2 separate regions of the Homo sapiens genome follow, and region 2 is linked to region 1. Evidence: promoter capture Hi-C in human tissues and cell types (Jung and others, 2019). All regions are on one chromosome and are shown on one strand. Each heading gives the region's core, a stretch centred on a gene start or on the middle of the fragment in contact. The rest is flanking DNA. Distances are from core to core; before and after follow the strand shown. Region 1 holds the start of ACP2 (acid phosphatase 2, lysosomal). Region 2 holds the start of MIR4487 (microRNA 4487).

Region 1 (2,959 bases), core at 287-2,786:
ACAGAGATCATATCTGTATGGTGCACAACTGAATGCAAAGTGCTAGCACAGTCCTTGGCCTTTAATAGGTACTCAATGTCTTGGATGGAAAGCCTGTGATTTCACAGTCAGAAACCACTTTGCCAGGCCCGCCCTTAAGTCCGAATTTGGATGCTTAATCAAATTTGCCTCATCCCAGCCAAGCAGGGGCAACTCAGCTCCTAGGGCTTTGTTCCAGACAGCTCTCAGATGTCTTTTCCTGTAGTTGTGACCAAAAATACAAGAAGGAGGCCAAAGTGCCCAGCCTCAGCCTTAGGCTCCCTGAGGGCAAAAGATGAGGGCAGCATACCTTGTTCCCCTTGCCTCTGGAGCTCCCAACCTTACCTCTTGCCGGTGATAAGAGGTGTTTAGGAAGCCGTGATAGCGCTGCCGCAGGGCCTGGCCCAGTTCCCAGTGCTGTAGCATCCCCTCCTGTGGGCAAACCCAAGGGTTAAGAGGGTCTAGAGGGAAGGGGTGGCTTCAAGCCCCATGGGGTTTAGGCCCTGTTGCTTTCCAGGTTCACGCTTTGCTGGAGTCAATTAATCTGATCCCAGAAGTCTTTCATTAAGTGGCCAGTCATGCACAGCAATATCATGGGCACAGAGATTAAGGTTATGAAATCTGGTCAAAGTCAGCACCCATATGGGAAAAGGCAGTTTAGTAGGACCCCAAGTTTTGTAGACTGCTCTAGACGTCGCTCATTCTGCAGCTCATCCTGAGGAAAGGCTGGCTTCTGACCCACCTTGGTTAACTGACCAAACCCCTGGGGCCATTCTTCTTCCTGATAGGGGTCCTTGGGATATGTCTTCACTGGTGAACGGTCTCCATGGCGGTACAGCTGAGAGAATAAAATGGTTTGCCTATAGGTCAGAAGCATCCCCTTGATAGGGACCCAGAGCCTACCTTTTGCCCCATGTTAGGGAAGGAAGTCTCATTCCCTCTGGGAAGCCTACTGGCTGCAAAAGACCCCAGCTAGGAGTCAGTCACTTCTTCCAGATTCCAGAGATTCTAACTTAGCTAAGCAATGCTACTGGAGACCATAGGCAAAGCCAAGGTACAGGTAGGAAGGGAAAAGAGAAGTGAAAGCAACGTATGTGGTGGGGACAACTGGGGAAAAAAGATAACCAAAGGCTTCTTTAGGGATGAGTCTTAACCATTCAACCACTTCCCTGTCTCAAGGCAGACTCACCCCGACGTATTCGGTCATCCTGACTCCCATAAGCCAGGGCTCCAGGTCAATCCTGAATCCAGCCTCCCAACTACCCAGGCCAGTCGTCCCCTCCTAAACCAGCTGTTCCTTCCCGAGATCCTCGACCTCCACCAGCTGGCCTTTGCCCTTTTAGCTTCAGGGAAGTCTTTGGTGAGCCCATCTCTCATTACCAAGGTAACGAAGCGCAGACTCCGGGCCCGGGTGGGCGGCATCACCACCAGGTTCACGCCGAGAAGGAGCTGGAGGAGAGCCGCCCGGCTCCAGCCGGACCGCTTGCCCGCCATCACCGTTGTAATCTATGCAGCAAACAAGCTGGAACCCGCTGGGTGGCACCTGCAAGCAGCCGCCCGGACGCACCCGTAAGGACACACGCCGGAAGTGCGTTCGCCGCCATCTTACTTAGGGACCTGCTGGGGTGCGGGGAAAAGGCGCAGTCTCGGTGGGATTGCGTGCAGGAGGGTCGTGGTCTGGCTGTGGCGGAGGAGCATAAGAAGGTAACGCGACCTGGCGCGGCAGACAGGGCTCGAAGACCTCATCTTGATTAAGAAGGCCACAAATTCGCGTTTGCCTCTGCTCGGAGAAATCCCTTACCAAGGTGGCACTTGCAGTGGGCGGGACCATGTCTGGAGAACCAGCGTCCCCTCCAGGCTTGACCCCATAGCTAGATCGGGTGCAGAATTGAGGCGAGGGATGGGAAAGTAGAGGTCGCTTCTCTCCACGCCCCTGCCTTTGTGGGGAGATTGAGCCCTGGCCCTGTTCTCCAGGAGATGTTTTGCTTGGGGTGCAGGACACAGTATGTAAACAACCCTTTGGACTCCGTGTGTCCTTGAGGTTGCCCCAGTCTGGCCTACCGTTCCTGCCCTGCACAAAGCTTCAGTAGCCCTCTCACTTTCCCTTCCAGTCCTTTCCCTGTCCTCCCTCCCCTCCACTTCCAAGTTTTAGTTAATTAGAGTCAAGACGTCATGTCATGCCTCTTCCCAAAGGAGTTGGGTTGCACAGGATGTTCAGACTTTACAAACCCAAAGCACTGAATCCCTGGGGGAGGAATTTCAGACCAGTGGGGAGGTATTTTGAGGTAAGGGACAGGCGCATATCATAAAGTGGGAGTAGGTGGGGTTTCCACAGAATCAATGGCCCTCTTGGCATTGACCATTAGGATTCAGGTGCAGCCAGTTTGGCCTCAGGACTTTGTGACTCCTGTGACGGTTGCAGGTCAGATCATAGGTCCTGGGGATGCTTTGATTCAGATCTGCCTACTGGAAGCAAATCTCCTCAGATCTTTGGGAAACAAAACTGATCAGGCTTGGCCTGGGCGCCGTGGCTCACCTGTAATACCAGCACTTTGAGAGGCCGAAGCAGGCAGATCACCTGAGGTCAGGAGTTCGAGACCAGCCTGGCCAACGTGGCGAAACCCCGTCTCTACTAAAAATACAAAAAAAAAAAAATTAGCCGGGTGCAGTGGCGTGCTCCTGTAATCCCAGCTACTCTGGAGGCTGAGGCAGGAGAATCGCTTGAACTCGGAAAGCGGAGGTTGCAGTGAGCTGAGATCACGCCACTGCACTCCAGCCTGCGCGACAGAGTGAGACTGTCTCAAAACAACAACAACAAAAACCTGATTAGGCTTGGTGTGGTGGCTCACGTTTCTAATCCCAGCACTTTGGGAGGCCAGGGTGGGAAGATTGCTTGAGCCCAGGAGTTGGAGACCAGCCTGAGCAGCTTAGGAAGATCTCC
Region 2 (2,959 bases), core at 167-2,666, 150 kb after region 1:
AGAGACCACCCCCTGGGTAAGTGACAACATGAAAATGGGAGAAAATGCCTCTCCTGGCCTGGAGATCTCACAGGAGGGAAATGTGTTTCTAACAGCCATGGGCCCAGCCCTCCTTCAGGCACCGGCTCTGTCCAGTAGGTACGATTATTACTCCCATTTTACATACGAGGAAACCCAGGGAAAAGAGATGTCCCAAGGTCACACAGCCTTGCAGGGGCTTGAACCCCAATCCTGTCTAACTCCAAGTCCCATGCACTTACATATACCTGAGAGCCCCTCCTTCCTTTTCTCCTAGGAGTTCTTCTGTACCTTCCTAGCTTGCAGGGTTGGGGCCCTGGGTGGCAAGTTGAACCATGACTGGATGGGACTGGAGGGCTTGGCCCTGCCTGGCTGAGGCTGCAGTCTGCAAATACCTGACTGCCCTTGCTCTTGGTTGGGCTGAGGGACTGCTGCCTGGGCATGCAAGGGGTTGGGGACCAGCTGCAGCGGCACCTCCCTGACATATTGCCTTGGGCCACCCTGCCCTCTAAGCTTGTTGGTGTCTGACTTTCTTGGGAGAGGGGTATAACCCCTTCCAGGGGGCCTGCATGGTGGGGCTGAGACACTAAGAAAGCTGCATTTGAGCTTCCTCACTGGCTCAGCTCCTTCTGAGGCCCTGGAAGGGGTCTCAGCAATTTTGTTTTTGTTTTTTATTTTTTTGGTTTTTTTTTTGATGAAGTCTCACTCTATTGCCCAGGCTGGAATGCAGTGACACAATCTCGGCTCACTGCAACCTCTGCCTCCCGGGTTCAAGTAATTTTGCTGCCTCAGCCTCCCGAGTAGCTGGGACTACAGGAGAGCGCCACCACGCCTGGCTAATTATTTTATTTTATGTTTTGTATTTTTAGTAGAGACAGGATTTCACCACGTTGGCCAGGCTGGTCTCGAACTCCTGACCTCAGGTGATCCACCCACCTTGGCCTCCCAAAGTGTTGAGATTACAGGTGTGAGCCACCGCGAACGGCTGTTTTGTTTTGTTTTGTTTTGTTTTTGTTTTTTGTTTTGAGACAGAGTTTAGCTCTGTCACCCAGACTGGAGTGCAGTGGTGCGATCATCTCAGCTCACTGCAACCTCTGCCTCCCGGGTTCAACGATTCTCCTGCCTCAGTCTCCCGAGTAGCTGGGATTACAGGCGCCCACCATCACGTCCAGCTAATTTGTGTATTTTAGTAGAGACAGGGTTTCACCATGTTGGCCAGGCTGGTCTGGAACTCCTGACGTCAAGTGATCCGCCCACCTTGGCTTCCCAAGGTGCTGGGATTACAGGTGTGAGCCACTGCGCCCAGCCTCTCAGCAATTTTGTATTTGTGACTTTGTAATCTTTTCCTTAAAGAGTGCCCCCCCAAATGGTTTTAAGCTTCAGGCTCCTGGGAACCTAGATCTGTCCCCAGGGTGGGGCGGTGGAAAGCGTTCCAACCCCCTCCCACTTGCTTTTTGCATGCTGGCTCTGGGGCTTTGGGTGAAACTCCCCACTTTGCCATCTATACAATGGGGATGAATGAGGCGATGCGATGCTTAGAGGACCCTCTGTTCAAAACTCGCCCAACCCACAGAGACCTTCACAAGCCTGCACTTGGTCCATCACCAACAGCCCTGTGGGGAAAACCGAGCTCCTACCCCCATTTTCCAGCTGAGATAACTGAGGCGTGAAGCCCCGCTGCCGCTCGTCGCTGAGGCTGTGAGCAGGCTGGAGCCTCATCCCCCACTGCTCCCTGGGGTCTCCTCCCGGGATGCCAAGCCTGGGTAGCAGGAGGGGGTCTCCAGGGTGCGGGGGCGCTCTGGGGAGGCCGGGGGCGGAGGCGGTGTCCCGCACTGTCCCACCGCAGGGCCGACCTCGGCCCTTATCTGCTCCGGCAGCTTCCGCCCCCCAACTCCAGCCCCCGCCGCAGGCCCGGCCCCCGGCCCCGCCCCCCTAGGGCCCCTCCCCCGCGCCGCCCGCCCCCAGGGGAGCGCCCGAGCTGCCCGGCTGCGGCCCAGTCGAGCGGAGAGGGGGCCCAGCCCCCCCAGGTGGGCAGCCGGAAGTGATAAATAACCGAGACGGGGGGGGGGGGACACCATTGCAGTGAGGCCCGAGTTGTCCCGGGATACTCGCCCACAACCCAATAGGAGCTCCCCAAACTAAGTTGTCTTCGCCAAAAATGGGAGGGGGTCTGAGAAGGAAGAGGAAAGGGGTTCCTTAAGGCCCCAGGGACAAGAGGAACAGTGGAGTCAGTTTAAACAGGGCTCTGAGAGGCACACGACCTCCCCCCACACTAACAATGCCAAGTGGCCTCCCTGGGACAGGTGTGGGGGGGGGAGAGAGAAGCGGAGACACCTCAGAGAAAGTGAAAAGGAAGTCACAACTGGAGATGCCTGCGGAGTGCAGCGGGGCATAGCCTCAAAAATACATAAGGAACTCTTGCAAATCAAGGAAAAGAAAATCAAGCAATCCAATATAAAAAAATAGATAACACACACGCAGCGCAGGCATGTTAGGGCAGAGAAAACGAATTTGCTCAAATACCATCTAAGGGAGGCTCAGCCTCACTGCTGATGAGGGCGATGCAAATTCAGACCACAATGAGATGCTATTTACACCATCTGAAGGGCAGAAGGGAACTGTCCTTCAGCCAGAGCTGGCTGAAGGGCAGAAGGGAACTGTCCTTCAGCCAGAGCTGGCTGAAGGGCAGAAGGGAACTGTCCTTCAGCCAGAGCTGGCAAGGAGGGGAGCAGCAGGCCCTCCTGCATGTGGCTAGTCAGGATGCGGCTCCAAATAGCCCCCTAGGGAGAGCAATCTGGCCTTATCTCACGAAGTGGAGGTACAGAGGCTGTCACCCACACATCCCCCCAGGCAGCAAATCAAGATAAGTTCTCTGACAAGTGCGCCAAGAGACAGGGACAAAAATATTCACGTTGTCCCTAATAGCAAAAAAAATCCTGAA

What was found. Contacts are between HindIII fragments. The study calls those that stand out against the background at their distance.
Region 2: a fragment that was not itself captured here is called in contact with the fragment with the promoter of ACP2 in region 1 in 6 of the 25 tissues and cell types used here (H1 embryonic stem cells, IMR-90 fibroblasts, dorsolateral prefrontal cortex and 3 more).

Annotation. Positions count from the first base shown.
Region 1 is chr11:47,247,278-47,250,236 of GRCh38, forward strand. ACP2 (acid phosphatase 2, lysosomal) reads right to left here and starts at 1,537. Exons shown (of 11, transcript NM_001610.4): 1 at 1,399-1,537; 2 at 761-856; 3 at 364-450. The coding sequence starts at 1,512. It also overlaps a transcript of NR1H3 not described here. RefSeq lists enhancers at 1,003-1,092, 1,223-1,732 and a silencer at 1,813-1,980. The HindIII fragment of the contact is 13,067 bases long and covers 1-2,959 here.
Region 2 is chr11:47,398,335-47,401,293 of GRCh38, forward strand. The region is part of intron 2 of SLC39A13-AS1 (SLC39A13 antisense RNA 1); the gene reads right to left. It overlaps MIR4487 (microRNA 4487), which reads left to right and starts at 2,636; the gene lies at 2,636-2,708. RefSeq lists a silencer at 1,695-2,054 and an enhancer at 2,104-2,959. The HindIII fragment of the contact is 6,212 bases long and covers 1-2,959 here.